7 separate regions of the Homo sapiens genome follow, and all the other regions are linked to region 4. The links are contacts of gene promoters, found by promoter capture Hi-C in blood cells and fetal thymus (Javierre and others, 2016). All regions are on one chromosome and are shown on one strand. Each heading gives the region's core, a stretch centred on a gene start or on the middle of the fragment in contact. The rest is flanking DNA. Distances are from core to core; before and after follow the strand shown. Region 1 overlaps ADD3-AS1 (ADD3 antisense RNA 1). Region 2 overlaps ADD3 (adducin 3). Region 3 overlaps SMC3 (structural maintenance of chromosomes 3). Region 4 holds the start of SMNDC1 (survival motor neuron domain containing 1). Region 5 has its middle 6.3 kb from the start of SMC3. Region 6 overlaps SMC3 (structural maintenance of chromosomes 3). Region 7 overlaps ADD3 (adducin 3).

What was found. Contacts are between HindIII fragments. The CHiCAGO score rates a contact against its expected background, and 5 or more counts as called.
Region 1: a contact is called between a fragment that was not itself captured here and the fragment with the promoter of SMNDC1 in region 4, in 4 of 17 cell types (neutrophils, activated CD4 T cells, total B cells and 1 more). The highest score is 9.5, in neutrophils.
Region 2: a fragment that was not itself captured here is called in contact with the fragment with the promoter of SMNDC1 in region 4 in 2 of 17 cell types (neutrophils and monocytes); the score reaches 7.6 in neutrophils.
Region 3: a contact is called between a fragment that was not itself captured here and the fragment with the promoter of SMNDC1 in region 4, in 17 of 17 cell types (fetal thymus, naive B cells, megakaryocytes and 14 more). The highest score is 30.0, in fetal thymus.
Region 5: a contact is called between a fragment that was not itself captured here and the fragment with the promoter of SMNDC1 in region 4, in 17 of 17 cell types (activated CD4 T cells, total CD8 T cells, fetal thymus and 14 more). The highest score is 67.6, in activated CD4 T cells.
Region 6: a fragment that was not itself captured here is called in contact with the fragment with the promoter of SMNDC1 in region 4 in 17 of 17 cell types (M2 macrophages, megakaryocytes, M0 macrophages and 14 more); the score reaches 114.2 in M2 macrophages.
Region 7: a fragment that was not itself captured here is called in contact with the fragment with the promoter of SMNDC1 in region 4 in 6 of 17 cell types (neutrophils, monocytes, naive CD8 T cells and 3 more); the score reaches 14.1 in neutrophils.

What each region holds. Positions count from the first base shown.
Region 1 is chr10:109,990,956-109,993,813 of GRCh38, forward strand. All of the region lies in intron 2 of ADD3-AS1 (ADD3 antisense RNA 1), which reads right to left. Among named protein-coding and RNA genes, the nearest start is that of ADD3, 16 kb to the right of the region's middle. The HindIII fragment of the contact is 205 bases long and covers 1,418-1,622 here.
Region 2 is chr10:110,030,922-110,033,811 of GRCh38, forward strand. The region is part of intron 1 of ADD3 (adducin 3); the gene reads left to right. Among named protein-coding and RNA genes, the nearest start is that of ADD3-AS1, 24 kb to the left of the region's middle. RefSeq lists a silencer at 1,230-1,524. The HindIII fragment of the contact is 5,269 bases long and covers 1-2,890 here.
Region 3 is chr10:110,577,993-110,580,812 of GRCh38, forward strand. It overlaps SMC3 (structural maintenance of chromosomes 3), which reads left to right. Exons shown (of 29, transcript NM_005445.4): 7 at 636-714. Among named protein-coding and RNA genes, the nearest start is that of SMC3, 12 kb to the left of the region's middle. The HindIII fragment of the contact is 3,969 bases long and covers 1-2,820 here.
Region 4 is chr10:110,303,591-110,306,738 of GRCh38, forward strand. It overlaps SMNDC1 (survival motor neuron domain containing 1), which reads right to left and starts at 1,330. Exons shown (of 6, transcript NM_005871.4): 1 at 1,158-1,330. RefSeq lists a silencer at 842-1,161. The HindIII fragment of the contact is 6,895 bases long and covers 1-3,148 here.
Region 5 is chr10:110,559,827-110,562,990 of GRCh38, forward strand. No RefSeq gene overlaps it. Among named protein-coding and RNA genes, the nearest start is that of SMC3, 6.3 kb to the right of the region's middle. The HindIII fragment of the contact is 1,243 bases long and covers 1,096-2,338 here.
Region 6 is chr10:110,597,379-110,600,078 of GRCh38, forward strand. SMC3 (structural maintenance of chromosomes 3) reads left to right here. Exons shown (of 29, transcript NM_005445.4): 20 at 761-912; 21 at 2,276-2,434. Among named protein-coding and RNA genes, the nearest start is that of SMC3, 31 kb to the left of the region's middle. The HindIII fragment of the contact is 1,728 bases long and covers 575-2,302 here.
Region 7 is chr10:110,010,905-110,013,901 of GRCh38, forward strand. The region is part of intron 1 of ADD3 (adducin 3); the gene reads left to right. Among named protein-coding and RNA genes, the nearest start is that of ADD3-AS1, 4.0 kb to the left of the region's middle. RefSeq lists an enhancer at 2,995-2,997. The HindIII fragment of the contact is 2,156 bases long and covers 621-2,776 here.

The DNA.
Region 1 (2,858 bases), core at 270-2,769, 310 kb before region 4:
ACATTAGGTGTTCAAATATTTTTTGAATGACAAACTCATGAATGACAATAGCTAACTTTTACTGAGCATGTAATATATGCCAGGTTCTATGCTAGGTACTTTAAATGTTCTTAAATCCTCACGACAACTTTTTGATTGCTGCCTCCATTTTACTGATGAGAAAACAAAGACTTGGATAGGCTACATAAATTGCCATGATTTTATTGCCAGTAGGTGTCAGGGCAGGAATTTAAACTCAAATGTTTCGGACTCCCCCCCCACCACCCACCTCCCCAAGCCCCCAGCTGACTGCTAACTTCTACGTTTACTGCTGACAATTGAATGAAGAGATAAATGAATAAATGAATGAACAAATGGATAAACTTAACCAACTACACACTCTACTCCACTAATTTTTACAACCAGTGGAACAATTTCGAGAAGCAATTGGCTGGAATTAGTGATGCAGGGTGGTTGTTGAATATTTCTTTGCATGAGGCAATTTGGCTCCTTGAAAAAAATTAAGCTCAAGTGCTCATTAACACTGTTTTTTAATCAAATGAACTGGCATCTGGCAAATGTTAGATGATAGATGTTTGCAGTGCCCAGCTTTAGCAGGCAAGCTCCTGGGCCACAGAGCTTTATTCACTGTAACCAGTACTAAGCTCCAAGTGCACACATCAGGTTTTTTGTGGGAAATTATCTGATGACCAAGTCTCACTTCCTTTCAAGAAAAACACTCATAATGGTCATATGCCAGTTAGGGCATTTTGCCCTATCTGAGATCCAAAGGAAGCTGTGGAGGGATATAAAGGAACCCTAGATGTCAGGGGTTCCAGATTCCTCTCTTGTCTTGAGGGCTTAGATAGGTGAGGGTCTTTCTAGGGTATTAAACCAGATGGTCTTTCAGTTCTGACTTTTATCCAAAGGAAACATATTAACTTATTTATTTCCTTTAAAAAGGTATTCTCCAAGTGAGGATTCCTGAACTTTGTGAAAAGGTAACCAAGTGCTTAAACATATGTTTGTGAATTTAGCTATTCTTATTTTACTGTTTTTTGAAATTATACAAATAATACTTGCACATGTAAAAGCACTCAAATATCCAAACATTTAAAGCAAAAAATGAAAATCTCTTTCTCCTAATCCCACCCCTCAGAATTAACTACTGTTAAGTTTTTCGTACAGATTTCCAAACTTTTTTCTAAATACATACACCATATATTTACATCTATATACTCACATAAATATATGCACATGCCCATGCATACATAGATACATATATACAAATATAGCTCATCATATAGTGGTCTAAAACGTACTTTTTTCCTCAACAATATATCATGGACATCATACCAGGTTAACATGATGTTTCATCAAGGCTGTATAGTATTCCATTTTATGGATCCATTATCATTGTTTTTACTATTCTATTGAAAGCTTTAGACTGTTGTTGTCACTGTTGTTTTGTTTGTTTGACATTGGAAACCACCTGGCAGTGAACATCCTTGTAACTATCTTGTTTAAATGTTCACACAAGAATTTCCGCACAGTAACTTCATTACCATGGATTTTTTTTAGTCAAAGAGGCACATGTTTTAATTTTTCATACTTATGGACAAGTTCAAAAAGAGATGTTTTGAAGCTTCTGTTCCTACGGAAACTTTCTGTGAAGTTTCAAATGACTGTGAGGTCCACAGCTCTGGGTTATCTCACTCCTAAACTCATGGAATTCCTTTCACTTTAGTAAAGTTAGCATGTTTCCTGCATTACGACAATCTCTTATCCCAGAGCACATTTGAACTCCTTTCCAAACTATCCTTTATTTCAGAAGCCTCTCATGCTGCAAAGTAAAGATTAAATTCTACCTCCACTATGGATTTTTTCTAACTAGTTAGCATACACTTGCGTACAGCTTCATTAAGTCCCTGTTTAAGCTTCCTTCTTTTCTATTGTACAAGCAAAAGAAGGTGGTTTTATTGAGAAGGAAAATGCAAGGCAATATACAGAAAGTGGTTATTTATTTGAAACAGGAACAAGGGAAAAGTTGAGAACATTTCAGAACAAATCATCATAACAGGAACCTGAAATCATGCCATAAACACCTCAGGCCCCAAGAAATACTGACTTCAATATATTCTAAGAAAAGAATTCTTAATTGTAATTTTACCAAGCACTCTGTATGTGCAGGCATTTTATAGAAAATCTTTTTTTTTTTTTTTTTTTTTTAGACAGAGTCTTGCTCTGTCGCCCAGGCTGGAGTGCAGGGGTGCAATCTTGGCTCACTGCAAGCTCCGCCTCCCGGGTTCACTCCATTGTCCTGCCTCAGCCTCCTGAGTAGCTGGGACTACAGGCGCCCGCCACCATGCCTGGCTAATGTTTTTGTATTTTTCAGTAGAGAAGGGGTTTCCCCGTGTTAGCCAGGATGGTCTCGATCTCCTGACCTCGTGATCTGCCCGCCTTGGCTTCTCAAAGTGCTGGAATTACAGGCGTGAGCCACCGTGTCTGGCCTAGAAATTATTTCTAATCCTCCCAATAGACTTGTCAGGTAAGTTGCAATATCTCCGTCAGGTAGATGAGGAAACTGAGCCTTACAGAACTGATGCAATTGCGTCAAGATTTCATATCCAGTAAAGTGCTTAAGATGGGGTTCAAACTCAGATTCATCTGATTTTCTTTCCATTGTACTTTGTTGTTTCTCTTGCCATCCACATTGCCAACTCAGAACTTCAAGGAAAAGAATCAAGACCAATGAATGGAGGTGCCAAGATGCAGAACTTAGCTCAGCATAAGGAACATAAGAAGATGAGTCACTTTTCATGGGAGGTTGGATGATGGGTTATCTGTCAGGAGTAATGTAGATTATATTTCTGCAGTGG
Region 2 (2,890 bases), core at 64-2,563, 270 kb before region 4:
CACCCACTATCTTTAATGGTTGGTGACTCCTGACCAGCTTCTTGAAAACAGGTGATAAAAATAAATTTGTAAGTCCAGGCACGGTGGCTCACGCCTGTAATCCCAGCACTTTGGGAGACCGAGGCAGGTGGATCACCTGAGGTCGGGAGTTCGAGACCAGCTGACTAACATGAGGAAACACTGTCTCTACTAAAACTACAAAATTAGCTGGGCGTTGTGGCGCATGCCTGTAGTCCTAGCTACTCGGGAGACTGAGGCAGGAGAATCCCTTGAACCCGGAGGGGGAGGTTGCAGTGAGCTGAGATTGTGCCATTGCACTCCAGCCTGGGCAACAAGAGCAAAACTCTGTCCCTCAAAAAATCAAAATAAAAAATAAATTTATGGCTACTATCCATTGGGCACCTGCCATGTGCAAGGTACAGTGCTAGGTACTTTAGGTAAAATCATGAATCCTCACATCAGTTCCACCGGATTTATATTCTAAATTACGAAGAAACAGATTCAGATACATTGTGACTTTGCTCTGGGTAAGTGGCAACTAGTAGGTGGCAGAATGGAATTCCAACCTAAGCCAGCCTGGTTCTAGAACCAGTGTTCTTTCAGCTGTATTATACTCCCCTATGTTTTCATTTCCATGTGTGTCCTTTAACATGAAGCGGAGTACTGTTTATAAAGGAGTTTCTTGGCAAATGGTGTTGACTGATCAGTACTTAGGATCCTTAAGTTGTTTTCCTTTGTCTTGGTGGATGACTTTAATGCGCCACCCTCCTACCCTATCTGGTACCTAGTGAGTGGCCTAGATGTTAATGAAGAGACATGAGCTATTTTTTTTTTTTAAGTAACTTTTAAAAATTGACAAAAGTTACATGTATGTATTATCTAAAACATGATTTGGAATACGTATACATTTAGAACATAAGGTTTTAGAATATGATTTATGAGAATGCATAAATCAGTCTAATTGACATATGTATTACCTCAATACTTTTTTTTTTTTGTGATAACATTTAAAGTTTCCCCTCTTAGCAACTTCAAAGAGATTTAATCTTATTGGCAGCCAGTTGAACGGTATAGATCAAGCCTATGACTTTCTCACCTGGAAAATCAGTCACAAAAAATGTTTCAGATGCCTTCAGGAAGAGATACAAGAAGAGTCTCCTTTGCTAAATGCCAGGAATATCAAATCTTGGACTTCAGAGACTGGCCATATAAGGAAAGAGATTTTTATAGACAAAGAGGGTTGAAGTAAAATAATGGGATAGAATAAGCATATTAAGCTGGATAAGTGTTATGTAATCCTAGGTCATCTCTTAATGGCCATGTCCTTGACATTGTTGCATTAAGAATGAGAGCTCGGAGAAATAGTCCATGTGTTGGCATGCTAGTCTCTAAGTTAGAATAGATGTGATCACAAATCATGAGTGCTCTTAAAGGGTGGATCCTGCATTCACTCATCCACTTCTGCCTTCATTCAGGCTCAAGCAAGTGGTGGTGACTTTGGAAAGATAAGGAGAGAAAAGGAAGGACAAAAAAGGAAAAAGGGAGTAAAACCAGACTGGGGAAGTGGGCAGCAGGGATACTTGGGCAAATTCAGAGTGCATAGTATTTGTACATGTACATGCATATTGTATTTATAATACTAAGAGCTATGTAAACTGTAAAATACTATTTCAGGAAAGAGTATAGTATGCTAGAAAGAGAATTTCTGACTAGGTGGTGTGGATTCAGCTTTCTCAGCTCTACCATTACCCTAAGTGTGTAACCTTATGAAAGTGTTAGAATCTGAAATAATCGCTATTCTATTAATACTTCTCTGGCTTTCCTTCCTGATTAAGATCATGCTAAGTTTGAAAACACTTTGTGCGTGCTCATATGCTGTATACATGTTGTTATTGTTTTTATACTGTTAATTATTTCTCTTCATCTAAAGTATTGCCTACCAGAAACTTTATCGAGAGGAAAAAATTTGTACCCAAGAACACACACATTATGATTAAGAGAAGTTAGAGTTAAATTAAATAGCCAATTTAAATAGAGCCAATTTGGCTCTCATCCCTAGGCTTTATAAAAGAGACAGTGGCAGCCTTGTGGGTGAGGGGAATGTGGACCTAATTACTCATTTAATTTAATCATTCATCCCTTTAACTCCTTTAAAACCTGACTTTTATAGGTCGATTATATAATGTGTGTGAGCACAGTGTTTCTCTTTGAATGAAAAACCCTGTTGAATGGCTTTACAAAAAGAAGATTTTGATATATTCATAGTAATAAACTTGGTTTGCATTTCTCTGAGGCTTATGGTCTTCAACTTCTGACCAAGTTAGTGAAGGGCTGCTATAACTACCAGATGGCAGTCTTTTCTGATCCAGTGTTAGATGCCAACAGACTAATAGCAGAATAGATGTAAGCAGAATTCAAGCACAGCATTTGAAGTATTGTTTAAATTGGTCATCTAGCAAATTTAATATAAAGAGGATAAAGAGAATATGTTCATGTCGCCATACAATTGTTTGGTTCTCAGGGCAGTCCCAGAATGCATCTTTAGTTTGTGTTCCATGTAAAATGCAGGGTACAGGGATATTTTGCCAAGTGCTGGTTTGAAATTTACTTGGGATCCATCCAGCTGGCAGATCAGCTGTGCTAATCAGATGGGCCCGTTTCTGGGGAATGGGATTTCATAGAGGGAGCAGTGTTCTTGAAGTATAGTTACTTAAAAACCAGTTAATTTTTAATTTAAAAATTCTCATAAGTGCTATATTAAAATGTATATAGTGCAAGTATTATGTATATAGTGCAAATACTTTGTGCATTCTTGTAAATAATAAATAGGGACAATAAAGTCATTGTGCTATACTCAGCTGCCTTTAATTTCTATTTTGAATCTCTGGGA
Region 3 (2,820 bases), core at 313-2,812, 270 kb after region 4:
GTCTCGAACTCTTGGCCTCAAATGATCCACCTCGGCTTCCTAAAGTGCTAGGATTACAGACATGAGCCACCACGCCCAGCCAGCATTTTTCTTTTTCTCAATACGGAGTCTTGCTCTGTCGCCCAGGCTGGAGTGCAGTGGCGCAGTCTCGGCTCACTGCAACCTCCACCTCCCGGGTTCAAGCTATTCTGCTGCCTCAGCCTTCTGAGTAGCTGGGATTGCAGGCAGTCACCACCACACCCGGCTACTTTTTGTATTCTTAGTAGAGACGGGGTTTCACCATGTTGGCAGGCTGGTCTCGAACTCTTGACCTTGTGATCTGCCTGCCTTGGCCTCCCAAAGTGCTGGGATTAGAGGCATGAGCCACTGCGCCCAGCCCGCAATTTTATGATTTCCTTACAAAAGAGTAAAAAGTATTCTTTTACCTGCTTCATATATGAGGAATATTTGCTTCATCTTCAACAAGTCAACATATAGAGGATAAACATAAGAATCAGAAAGTTCTGAGGATGATACAGATGGTTTAATTACTGATCTTTCCTCCCTAATGCTATCAACCAAGGGGCTACTCTACTCATTGCTTAATGGTGCTTTAAAATTATTTATCGGAAAGTAATTTCATTGTTTGTCAACAGGAAAAATGATGTGATGAACCTCCTTGAAAGCGCTGGTTTTTCTCGAAGCAATCCTTATTATATTGTTAAACAAGGAAAGGTAAAACAATTGTATGTCCTTTTTAAGTAGAATTTGTTTTCTGAGTAATTCTTGAGTGATGAATTTGGTTTATTGATTTGAGTGGTTAAGCTGAAGCAAAAATGGCCATATTCTTTTACATGGCCATAAAGTACCAAATAGGTCCATTGCATGTTGAGATGGAAGTATTTCAGCATATTAAGTGGATCTTGTTTTCCTAGTGACTGGTATTACTTACTGAGGTGAAAGTATGGGAAGACATTATTGGCTTATGAATGTTGCAATAATTAAGAATATTGTAGGAATTCTATAAAAATCACATTTGAAAAACTTTCTAAAATTAATATTTTGTGTTACCTAATTATTTATCACAATTAAAATACTGAAAAGCTAACATTACCAGAAATCTGCCATTTTGCCACATGTTATTTTCCCTAATAGGGATTATGTTTTTACATTTTTTCAGCAGCCAAACTACAAACTTTTTTAGCTGATTGTTCTGCTCTCTTCTCATATACTTTCACTTTTTTTTTGGACTAGGGAAAATTCTCAAAGAATATTCACTTATTTTATACTGTAGGCCTTTTTTTCTAGATATGTATTGGAAAGTTAGCATTTAGAAGAAGTGATTAGGAAGAATATGGAGTTTCAGTTTTAGAAAATGTGTTACTGGAAGAACACGTTTTTTTCCGATTTAACTATTTGTGGGAGATAAATTTTTTTAAATGGAGGCTGATTTGAAAGAGCACTTTTCTGAGATCCGTCTGCTGTCAATCTAGGCCCTTTTACTTCATTTCAGTTTCTGCCCGTATGCCATCCTTGATTGCCTCATCTGAAAGCATTGCCGTCCCCTCAACCCTATGTGCTTTATTTCCTTAATCTGTTTTATTTTTCTTCATAACACTTACACTGTTAGGATAGTACTTATTTTCTGTCTTTTTCCATTAGAATGTAAGCTCCATGAGGGTGGGACCTTTTCTGCTTTGTTTGCTCTTTTCCAGTGCCCAGCAGTGGCACATATGTTGTAGCCATTTGAAAAATAATTTTTAAGTGAGGAAATTGCATGAACCAATATGTATAATTGGAGCGTTCAATAATGAGGATCTGAAGGATGATTCTTTGATGTAGATACTTTTGATAGACCTATTTTCGTAGAGATAATTTCAATTTTTTAATGCAGTGATATCATTTTTGACATTTAGGGATACTTGTTATATATTAAGTTGCATGGCACTTAAGTTGTACCATTCTCTCTATATTTAAAGCATACCATTTTTGTCATATCATTAGCCTTCTGTATCTGTAGGTTCCACATCTGCAAGTTCAGCCAACCATGGATCAAAAATATTTAAAATAAATAAAATTTTAAAACAGTACAATAAGAAATAATACAAATTTAAAAATACAGTAAAACTATTTACATAGCATTTACATTGTATTATTATAATTAATCTAGATATTAAAGTATATGGAAGGATGTGCATAGGTTATATGCAAATACTATGCCATTTTATATAAGGGACTTGAGCATCCTTGGATTTTGGTACCTGCAGGGGGTCCTAGAACCAATCCCCATGGAAACTGAGGAAGAATTGACTTTTAATATATTATTGTAGCTTTAAAAAAAAGTGTAGTCAGTGATGGTTTTCCCTTATAAAAATACTTTGTTTTTTGAGAATGGAGCTCATCTTTTATACCTTATCATATTGACTAAGAAAAAGATGGTGGTGTGAGATACTCCTTCACTTGTTAGCCCTATTCATAAAGGAGAGTTATGACCGTAACAGTTGTATTTGGATTTTATTTGGTAAATTTCATTTAAGTAAAGGAGACATAGATATGTAGGCATGCGTACTATACAAATGACATTAGCCAAATCATAATCTGTTTAAAACTTGGCATGTCCCAAATTCAAAAGTCTGAAATACAGAATGCTCTACAATCTGAAACCTTTCGAGTGTGGACATGACATTCAAAGGAAATGCTTGTTGGAACATTTTGGATTTCAAATTTTTGGATTTGGGTTGCTCATCTGGTAAGTATAAATGCAAATATTCCAAAACTTGAAAAAATCTAAAATCTGTAACACTTCTGGTTTCTAACCATTTTGCATAAGGGATACCCAAC
Region 4 (3,148 bases), core at 80-2,579:
GGGAAAATAAAAAGGGTTAGACCATGAAAACTAAACCAAAAATCAAGGCATAAAAAACTAACTCCCCTGTCTGCCTGAATTACCAGTTTTTGCCTCTAACTCCTTCTAACACTGCAGCTTAATTTACCACCATTACCTTTACTCTCAGTTTAGACTTCAGCTAAACCACAAACTTAAAGGCAACAGATTCTGAGGATTATAAACTTGAGATACATTCCATACTTTAAAAAAGCATACAGATACAAAGAAATTTCTAATTTTCTTTTAACTCCTATCCACAGGGTAGGTGCTGAATTCGGCTCAATAATCAGTGTTATCTTTTTAAAAAGCACTACTCTGTTGGAAAAGTCGAAACTTTCAAAAACAATCCAAATACTTATTTTTAAGCACTACAGTATGCTTCCAAAGCCAAACAAGTGCGTTTTTAAATTAACTACACAAACTACGATCTTTACTTGAACTATTCAATTAAGAGTGTATTTAAAAGTGCCTCTCCAAAACAAAAATCTTTCGCCCAGTCGCTTAAATATTTATCGGTGCATTATCTTCAGCAAAAAGAACAGCACAGGTACTCTCCCATTTAGGCATTCTAACGAATGTGCCTTTCGCCAAATCCAGCTCAGTCATTTTCCTGAAAATAAGATACCAATTAACCTTTTTTGATGGTTTATAAGCAAATGTACCACGTTTCCGAGGACCCTTCTCCTTCGTAAAATTCCCGTCCAACCAAAGGCTGGGAGCCTGCAAAGGCCCCCTAAGAGTTACAGCGACCCAGGCTGCTCTCCTCCCCGCCACGCAGCACCTCAAAGCCCGCCACAACTCGATCATTCGGACGTGGAAATCCACACGCCAGCTCCAAGACCACCGCCGGAGCCCCGCCGCGCTCCAACAGGCAGGCTCCACAGGGAGCCGCGCGGCGCCCAGCCCCACCCGACCCGGTCCCCTGCGGGCCGTGTTTGCCGCCGCCGCACGGAGGCCAGCGCCGGCCGGGCCGCCGAGGCTCAGCTCTGGCTGAGAGACGGCCGTGGCTCCGGGATCCAGGGCCAGCGCCTGGGCGTCTCCGGCGAGGCGGGCTCCTCAGCCTTGGGCCTCCGCTTCACCTCGGGAGGGACCCGGGCCCGGCCAGGCCTTACTCTCTCCCTCAGGGGGGTTGTTACCTTGTGTGGGGCTGGGGGCGGGGCGGCGGGAAGGGGTCGGGGCAAATGAGCCCAGTGGTAGTGGCGGTGGCAGCAGCAGCAGTAGCAGTAGCAGGAAAATCACCGCGACGACAGCAAGGCGACCCGGTCTGAAAAGGAAGAACTCGGTCGGCGGCGAGGGGGAAGGGAGGAACGCCGGGCACTGGAAGGAGGAAAAGACAGAGACGGTGAAGTCTCGCGAGAAATACAAACTCTCGCGCGAGGTCGCTCGACTCACGTGACTCCGCGCGCCCTCTAGCCAGTCCCTGGCTGTCAGGGACACGAAGTAGGCGGGGCCTAGGAAGGAAATGGCGTAGCTGGGCTTCGCCAGGCGCGGAATGCAGGTTATCTTCCTGGAGTTCCGGCTTGGAATTTATTGGAAATGCAAATTCTCAAGCCCCACCCCAGACCTCCTGAATCCAGAGACTCTTGTTTTAATAAGCTCACCAGATGATACCAATGTCCGCTGACGTTTGAGAACCACTGCTTTTCCGGGGCGGTGGTGGTGGGTGGCGGGGGGTGTTGGTGGGGGCTCTCTTTACGTTGCCCTGGCTGGTCTCCAGCTCCTGGGCTCAAGCTATCCTCCTGCATCGGCATCCCAAAATGCTAGGATTACAGGCGTGAGCCACCGCGCCCAGCCTGAGAACCACTACTTTATATGATACAAGCCTTAGTAGTAACAGAAAGCTAATTAAATCGTGACAGAAATAACCTATTGGAGAGAAGATTGATTTCTTTAAAATCTGTTTTGTTAAAACCTACTTGGTTTTAATTTAGTTGGGTTAATCTCGCCTGATAGGGAACAACGTCCAAGTTAGTCTAGAATGGTAAAGAGTGGTAGGAATACTCACATTTGTGTTCAAAAAGAAATGCCCCTTGTGTATGTTTGTAATAATATATACGCTTTCTGGACGGATACACAAAACTGTTCAGAGGTTTGGAGTGGAAGCCAAATGTTTTATTGATTACCCTCTTTGCTGTTTACCCTTTTTCCTTTTCTTTTTTTTTTAAACCATATATATATAATTTATTTCAATTAAAAAAGCAATAAAGGCCTGAGACACAAAGTTTTATATAGATGACAGGAAGCAACCTTTCCTGGGAGGTTGGGAGTTTGTTGCTGGATCCATAAAAAGGCCCACTTCTCGCGGATCACCTGAGGTCAGGAGTTCGAGACCAGCTCGACCACGTGGAGAAACCCCGTCTCTACTAAAAATACAAAAAAAAAAAACCAACAACAACAACAACAACAAAAAGCCGAGCATGTTGGTGCATTCCTGTAATCCCAGCTGCTCGGGTGGCTGAGGCAGGAGAATCGCTTGAACCTGGAGGCGGCGGTTGCGGTGAGCCGAGATCGTGCCATTGCACTCCAGCCTGGGCAGCAAGAGTGAAACTCCGTCTCAAAAAAAAAAAAAAAGGCCCACTTCTCAGATGGGCTCTTTTGAACTGTGCCAACATCTTTAGTTCCTAGTTTTCTTTTCAAGGAGCCTTCCCTTTTGTTCTCTACACACACACACATAACCCTTGCAGTGAGTCAGATAACCTGTATAGATGGAAACTAGGTCGGGTTTGTGAGTGTGAAAGATTGAAATTGCAGCAGAGGGCAGCAGTGTGTAGCTAGAATTAAGAAGGCAGACAAAACAGAAAGCATGTGCTTTTAAATAAATATTCGTTTAAAATAAAATGTAGTTTTAGAGAACTTCTGTTATTGTAATTGTGTGTTTTAAGAACCGATGCGAGGAGGAACTTCCTTGAATATAAAGTCAACCTTATTGTGTAAAAATCTCTTAAATGAGAACTTTTCCTGAACCCCATAGATCAGAAAATAGGCAAATATTCATTATAAGTTCCATCATAGATTTCTATACCATCTTAATAATTTTTTCAGGATTGTTTTTAGGATTGTTTTTATCTATGCAACATTCATTTATAAAGAAAAGCTATATTGAATTTTAATTTTCACAAAGAAATAA
Region 5 (3,164 bases), core at 467-2,966, 260 kb after region 4:
GGTTTCAGAAGCTCCTCCAAAATTCTTAACTGAGTTTTGAGAAATGCATAAATCGTGGAATCCAAATCTCTATAAAGATACAGAACATTATCATCAGCTCTCAGAAAATTCCCTATGTTCCTTCCTGGTTCTCTCCAACTCTCCCTGAAGCTATCACTTTTCTGATTTTTTTTAACCTATATGCCCTCATTGTCAGACAGAGTTGATTTTTTTCCACCATAGATGCTTTTCACCTGTTCAAGAACTTCATATACATAGAATTACACAGTGTGTATTCATCAGGGGAAAGCTGTTTTCACTCAGTAGAATACATATATTTTTTCCTTTTTGTGGAGAATGGGGTCTTGCAATGTTGCCCAGGCTGGTGTCAAACTTCTGGGCTCAAGCGTTCCTTACACCTCTCCATCCCTAAGTGTTCGGATTACAGGCATGAGTTACCGCCCCCGGCCACACTCAATATAATATTTTGGAGATTCAGCCACGTCACGGCATGTGTCTGTAGTTCACGTCTCTTTTTTTTTTTTTTTTTCTTTTTTGAGATGGAGTCTTGCTCTTGTTGCCTAGGCTGGAGTGCAGTGGCACGATCTCGGCTCACTGCAACCTCTGCCTCCCGGGCTCAAGCGATTCTCCTGCCTCAGCCTCCTGAGTAGCTGGGACTACAGGTGTGCACCAGCATGCCCAGCTAATTTTTATATTTTTAGTAGAGATGGGTATTCACCATGTTGGCCAGGATGGTCTCGATCTCTTGACCTCGTGATCCACCCACCTTGGCCTCCCAAAGTGCTGGGATTACAGGCATGAGCCACTATGCCTGGCCAAACCTCCCTTTTCCTAGTAACTTGTTTTTTGCATTTCATTGCTTTCTCCCAAAAATACTTATACTAGATTTAGGGATTTTGTATTAAATATCTTTTAAATTATAAAAGATAATTTAAACCAGAAAATGTATCAGCTTACGTTACTGTTAAATAATGTAGTTTTGTGTTTAACTTTCTAGTGATACAGTTACTACTGAGTGAAAAATTGGGAATCTGGAACCTGGCATATTTGAATCTATGCCAGAATTTGGATTTCTGCATTAATCTAAATAGCTGAAGCTTTGTGTAAAGACGATCTAAACCTGAGATTTCAATAGCACATTTGAAATTATGATGTATTTCAATTATATACAGCACTGTTATATTTTATGAAATAGTTCAAGAATGACTTAGATAATCTACACATTATCATCTGTACATGGTCTAAGTATCGGTATGGTTCAAAGATTCACTGTTGAAATATTTTCCTAGGTTTTTCCAGCTTTATTAAGATATATTTCACATACAATAAAATTTACCCATTTAAAATATGGAGTTGTTATTTTCACTATATTCAAGAAGTCATGCAACCATCATTACAATATAATTTTAGGATATTTTCAACACTCCCTTTCCTCCCCTAAAAAACAAACCTGTACTCCATTTTCAAACCTTCCCTTCCAATCCCCAGCCCCAGGCAGCCACTGAACTGTTTTCTGTCTCTGTGGATTTTCCTATTCTGGAAAGTGCCTAAATGTTTTCCAAAGTGGCTGCATCATCTTACAATCCCACCAGCAACATACGAGGCTTTCAATTTCTCCATATCCCAGCCAACACCTGTTATTGTCTGCCTTTTTATTTTAGCCATCCTAGTGGGTATGAAGTGGTATCTGACTGTGGTTTTGATTGACATTCCTCTGATGACTAATGATGTCGAGCATCTTTTCACACGTTTATTGGCCATTTGTTTATCTTCTTTGGAGAAATGTGTATTCAAATCTTTTGCCCATTTTTAAAGTGGGTTGTTTGTCTTTTATTGTTGAGTTGTGAGAGTTCTTTATATATTTTGGATATATATATACACACACACACACACACACACACACACACACACACACACACGTAAATTGTCAGGTATACAATTTGCAAATATTTTCTCCCAGTCTATATCTTTTCACTTCTGTTAGTGAACAACAGTTTTGAGGAAGTACAATTAATCTTTGTGTGTGTTACTTTGCTTTGGCAATGCATTACAGAAACCACTGCCAACACAAGGTCACAACGATTTACTCCTATGTTTCCATCTGGGGGTCTTGTAGTTTTAGCTCCTAGGTTTGCTAAATAAAATTTATAGAAAGTCATTGGTTTTCATGGAGCTCCTGCACTAGACCCAACAGACCAAACCAAAATGGATTTACTCATATTGAAGTTCCACAACACCATGCCAAAACTAAGTTGTTTATCTGAACTTTCAAGAAATCAAGAGAGAGAGAAAATAGCCAAATTCCCAAATAGGCCTGTTTTAGCCAGCATGATGAGGAAGCTTCCTCTGCTTTAACCTTTACAAGGAGAGCAACTTTGAAACAGCTGTGTTTTGTTTTCTGTCTGCTTTCCTCAGCCCTTTTCTATCTAGAAAGCCATGATCTTCTGCTCAACTCACCAGAATGTGCATTCTTTTTCATAGAATGAGGTGTTGCTTGATTCTAGAATCACAAGTAAAGCCAATTAAGATCTTTAAACTAAATTCATTATAATTTTGTCTTAGGACGTGTTTAAGTCTATAACCCATAGGGGTTTGTGGCTATGGTTCATAGACCATGTTGTTCTAGGAGTAAGATAAGTTGGCAGCCAGTGACGGTGTGTACATCTTCACTTACATACCAAATTAGATTAGGCTTGAGCGAGCACAAGCTGATGTCAGTCCCTGCAATGGAAAGTCTCAACCCCTCATCCAGTTTATGTACGGGAGGCAGATCTCACACCACAGCCCATCAACTGAAGGGGAAGCTGAGTCCCAAGGAAGGTGTATTTTCTCCTTGGGTATATTCAGTATCATTTCTTTCAATCTGACCCTAAAACTTAACAGAGTAACTGAACCCTAGGAAAAGGGGAACACCCAGATCTTTTGAGTGCTGTTGGACATAGGATCTGAGCTGACACTGAGCTCAAACATGTTTATGGCTCCCCTGATCCAGTGGAGGTGTACAAAGGCCAGGTGATACATGAAGTCCTGGCTCAAGTCTGTTTCACATTCGTTGCACTAGGTCCATAAACCCATCCTGCGGCAATTTCCCTGACCAATGAGCACACAGTCAAAATGGATTTTTTTCTCTTTTTTGAGATGGAGTCTCACTCTGTCACCCAGGC
Region 6 (2,700 bases), core at 189-2,688, 290 kb after region 4:
ATAAGAAGTACTTTATGTGTGCTTTCCATTTTGCCACACAAGTTGAAAAATATAGGTACTTGAGCATCAAGAATAGATATAAAGTTAATGATTTTTAACTGCTTCAGGTGAAACTGGAATTTTTTTAAAACTGCAGATTTATAACTTCTGTGCCATCAGTGCAAGCACAGAAAAAGAAAAATAAGCACCTGAGCTTTGACCTTGCAGGGGTCTGCATATCGCACTTTAAAGAACTGCCTGAATTTGGCAAGATGTTAACACAAAGAGCGTATGGGGAAATACTGAGGAAAAGGAGGATGTTGACAGTGTATACCAGCTGTCTTCCTGTGTTTGATAATCCAGCTAGATTGAATTATTCCACACATGGCAAGAACTCTTCATACATAAACCCTTAACATAGTGCCTTAAGCATAGTAACAGTAAACATTTGTTGAATGAAAAGATATTTAAAAGTATGTAATATTGTTAGATTTCACCTAACCTCCTTTATGGTTTTCCAAGAATTTGTTTTGTATAACTTTTAGTAAAACAGTATACATGTTATTCTGAGAGTGAAATGGGGTGAAATGTTTCAAGCTTCTTTATGATTGAATGCATTTTGGGTAATATAGTTCAGCATTGTTTTGGTCCATAAATTTGAGGACATAAATGTTATTTGGGGGTAAAGAAAAGGAAGGGATACATGGTGTTGTGTCTAAAAAGAATTAAGAACATACGATATATTTACAACCTGGAGATAATTTTCCTTAGCCTTGTATATGGATTAATAATGAAATTGATCAGTTGATGAACCAAATGCAACAGATCGAGACCCAGCAAAGGAAATTTAAAGCATCTAGAGATAGCATATTATCAGAAATGAAGATGCTAAAAGAGAAGAGGCAGCAGTCAGAGAAAACCTTCATGCCTAAGGTTCGTAAGTATATCTTTGGTTATAGATCGATTGTTACAGATTAATAATATGGAAATATGAATCATACATTATATGGGTTATCCTTGAATTTTATGTTTCATTTTTGTTTGGACCCATACTTTTTTTTTTTGAAGACAGAGTCTCTTTCTGTCTCACCCAGGCTGGAGTGCAGTGGTGCGTTCTCAGCTCACTGCAGCCTCCACCTCCTGGGTTCAAGCGATTTTCCTGTCTCAGCCTCCTGAGTAGCTGGGACTACAGACATACGCCACCACATCCGGCTAATTTTGTGTTTTTAGTAGACATGGGGTTTCACCATGTTGTCCAGGCTTGTCTCAAACTCCTGACCTCAGATGATCCACCTGCCTTGCCCTCCCGAAGTGCTGGGATTACAAGTGTGAGCCACTGTGCCCAGGCTAGACCCATACTTTTGGATATCTACATCTATTTTACCATTCTTAAACCCATGGATACCCAAAGTCTCCTATTGTTGGCACGTTCAAACTTTCCACCTTCATTGAACAAATAGGCATTTGAAGCTGTGACATAAGAGTACTGTCTGATGGTCAGTTTTTGTCAGTAACCATTTTTATCTGAAGCACAATGGAATTAGTTGAATATTTGATTCCGTTTTGTCCAGATTGTATTAAAATTAGAAAGCAAACTTATAAGTGATAGTGTGTTATTGGTCTCATAAACTTGACAGTTTTGACAAATCTTTTACTTAGTATAATACTAAAACTACAAAGAGCTTAAAAAAAAAAAAAAAGATGTGCCTACAGTTGTACCATCCCAACCATATTCTGACAACTTTTTATTTTTTGAGGGGGATGGAGTCTCGCCCTATCGCCCAGGCTGGAGTGCAATGGCGTGATCTCGGCTTACTGCAACCTCCACTTCCTGGGTTCAAGCAATTCTCCTGCCTCGGCCTCCAGAGTAGCTGGGATTGCAGGCGTGTGCCTCCACACCCAGCTAATTTTTGTATTTTCAGTATAGACGGGTTTCACCATGTTGGCCAGGCTCGTCTCGAACTCCTGACCTCGTGATCCACCCACCTTGGCCTCCCAAAGTGCTGGGGTTACAGGCGTGAGCCACTGCGCCCGGCAACTTTTTGTTCTTATAATATGCCTGAAGATTTTTGTATAGTTTAATCATGGAATATGATCTGCCCCACCCTGCCCCACCTATACTATTACATCATATTTTTCTTGTTGCTAGAGTCCTAATTACCAAATTAATAGGCACCTAATATTTGAGTTGATATGTCTATATATTTAGCTCAATCAAATATAGATTGTTTTAAAATTTTCACTATAAGTAATACAGTGGCTAATACCTTACTAATAAATGGATAATGTCATATAGCAACGTAGCTTACAGAGTTTGGAGGCAAGCTTGCATGCTATGGAGTCTACCAGAGAGTCATTGAAAGCAGAACTGGGAACTGATTTGCTTTCTCAACTGAGTTTGGAAGATCAGAAGAGAGTAGATGCACTGAATGATGAGATTCGTCAACTTCAGCAGGTAAGTAGACAGCTGACTGGAAAAAGAATTCGTTAGTAATTGGCTATTGTGAAAAGGGCCTTTCTTGCTAACTAGGGCAATATGAAAGAAAAGAACTGAGAAAATATTAAAATGAGGCTTGGACTTTTAATATACATAGGAGTAAATAAGATTTTGTTTTTCTAAACCAATCTAGCTAGGTTAGGATTATACAAGAAATTTTCATTTCCTTAAAATTTAGTTAATTAGCATTACTTATTAGTTGTAAGTATTGCTATGAGTTTGAG
Region 7 (2,997 bases), core at 449-2,948, 290 kb before region 4:
CCTCTGGTATTAATACCACCAAGTTATGCTTAAATCTAAGGAGTGGTGGTTAATCCGCATTAAATACAGTCACCTTTTGACATTGAAAGGGTATTCTCTTTTGATACACAACATATGTTTAGGGTGCTAGAGTTTGTGCTAGAGTGTGCTATCTTTCTAATTACTAAAGATACTAAAGTCTTTTTTTTTTTTTTTGAAGCTTACCAGATATGTAGGGCCCCAGGTGGCCCAGAGGGCACTAATTCCCATTGGAGATTCCAGTTCTGCAGTAAATCAGTAAACCTTATCACCTTTCTGATTACCAACATCATATCAACCTGAGATAAATTTTAACTTAAGTTTGTTCTAAATACCACCTGAGTTGCTTCCTAAAATGAACCCTAAATGCAAAGATGTAACTTGTGGCTTATACTTTGTCATTCACATTCCTCAAGGAACTGTGTGTTGCTGCTTCACCATTGTAGTTGATATGTCAAACAAATTATAAACTAAATTAGGAGCTGTTTTAAGTAATGTTTAGAATTATTGTAGATAGATGAAATGTCATTTGACAACTTAGTGCAATGTAATGTTAGGAAAAAATGTTTAAAAACAAGCATGCGTTGAATTGAGAAAGTGCAAGCTTTATTGAAGACACAGGTTACTAATCTGTTTCTCACACTAAACACTGTTTTTGTTATAATTAGTGCTTTTCAGATTCCTTTGAAAATATTAAATATGTAGAGTTTGAATTTTTAAAAAAACTTTAAATATCTAATCGAGTGCTATTCTTCCTTTTAAACGTAGACCTATTTGAAGTTATTTAAACCCAATTTAAAATTAATTGGACAGTCCTAGACTGTCATGTCATTGAGATTCAAAATAAGTGCCTTAATACTTTATGTCTTCTTTGTTAATACTCTATGGTTTGAACTCCGGGTCCATGCCAGAGTGTTTATAGGTGAGATTGTTATGAGGTCTTTCAGGTTCTGCCAGAGATTCAGTTCTCTTGGCCAAATGCCAAGACAGTCTCAAATTTTTACTGTAATTTTTTACTGTAATGGGTTGTATATATCAAGAATCCTCTAAAACATACAGGTTAGAAGTCTTTCATTGGCTGTTGCTTGAACGAAAAAGTGTGTTATCCCTTAGATGAATATGATTATTTTTTATTCTTGCAGTAGCTAATTATGGATGTGTGTGTCTATGTATACGTATGTCAAACCATGCTACTTGAGGGATTCTCTTCCTTTTAGGTAAAGTTAAAAATTATTCACCTGGTGTATTAATGTAATATTTATTGAGTACCAACAGTATGCATAGAGTAATACCTTTATGTGGGAAAAAAGTGTTGGAGAAAAAAGGTTTGTGGATCTTTTATTTATTTCATGTGTATTTTAATGTTGCTGAATATCTGGACCAGTCTCAAAGTTCAAAATTGAATTGCCAGTTGAAAACATGTTAAATGTTAAGAAAGTACTGTTTAACTTAAAGTCTTAGATGGTAGCACAGATAATGAGAATCAGAGCCCCTTGTTTCCTTAAACTGTTTTTGGTTGAGTATGTTTGAAAAGCTGCGTTAACAATTCCTTTCAGGCTTCTAGGACATTACTTAACTGCATTGAAGGAATACATTTAGAGTATCCTAGAAACCTTAAAGAATGAATGTGGCTTTCAGAGTTGTCTAGCATAATCCAAATAGTAGTAGCATGATCACCAAAAGGTATAAAATGGATGAAACCTCTCTTTGATTTTAAAAGGCTTACTGTTCTTGTAAGTTTGTTTCTTGAAGATAATATTGCTTAGTTTTAACTCCACTAAAAGCTGAACCGTTATTGTACAAGATGTATAGGCCTTGGCATATGTTTATATCTTTTTTTTTTTTCTTCTTTTGTATTTTTGAGACAGCTCTCACTATGTTGCCCAGGCTGGTCTCGAACTCCTGGGCTCAAGCCATCCTCCCACCTCAGCCTCCCAGGTAGCTGGGACTACAGGCATGAGCCACAGGCCTGGTTTATATCTTTAAGGTAAGGTTAGATCTAAATTGAGCCTTTACTTGAAGTCAGACTGATCTGCATCAGCACCATATGTTATGTTTACTTTTTTTTTTCTTTCAATGAAAATGGGCCTGAGGAGATTGGTTTGTATACGGTACATAAACTGGCATTTAAGATGACTACCTCTTCAAACAAGGCTACGGTTTTTTTGGATTTTTAGGTTTTTGTTTTGTTTTGTTTTGAGATGGAGTCTCTCTCTGTCATCCAGGCAGGAGGGCAGTGGTGTGACCTCGGCACACTGCAACCTCTGCCTTCTGGGTTCAAGCGATTCTTCTGCCTCAGCCTCCTGAATAGCTGGGATTACAGGCGCCTGCCACCACTACCGGCTCATTTTTGTATTTTTAGTAGAGATGGGGTTTTGCCATGTTGGCCAGGCTGGTCTTGAACTCCTGACCTCAAGTGTTCCTCCCCGCTCGGCTACCCAAAGTGCTGGGGTTACAGGCGTGAGCCACTGCACTCGGCCAAGGCTAAGGTTTTAATCTAGGGTTATGAAACTCAATTTTTTCTGCAGTGGGCATATGCAATTTCCATAGGATAAACATTTCCCTCAACCAGCTAGGAGGTAAAAACACTTCTGAGAAATTTAAGGACAGTAACATAATGTCTTTAAAACCAGTGTCTCAAGAAGTATACTATATTAGTGAAACAATAAAATAACAGTGATCACAGATACGTTAAGGCAAGCAGTGGATTAAGCAGGATAACCTAACTCCAAGTAATATACACGAAATTATTTTTTTAAGCTTCCATACCTCTTTAAATTTATTCTTGTGATTTCTTACTTTCCCCTCCCTCACCAAAGGAAGTGCTCACCTTTTCAGATGGAATGAAAGAGGAGAGTGCTGATGTGAGTGACTCAGCCTGTTTAACTCTGCCTCTGTGGTGGTTTGTTGGTTACCTACTAGAGGAGGTGGAACTCAAACAATGTAAAAGCAATCAGGTTGGAGAAGTGCTGAGTTTTT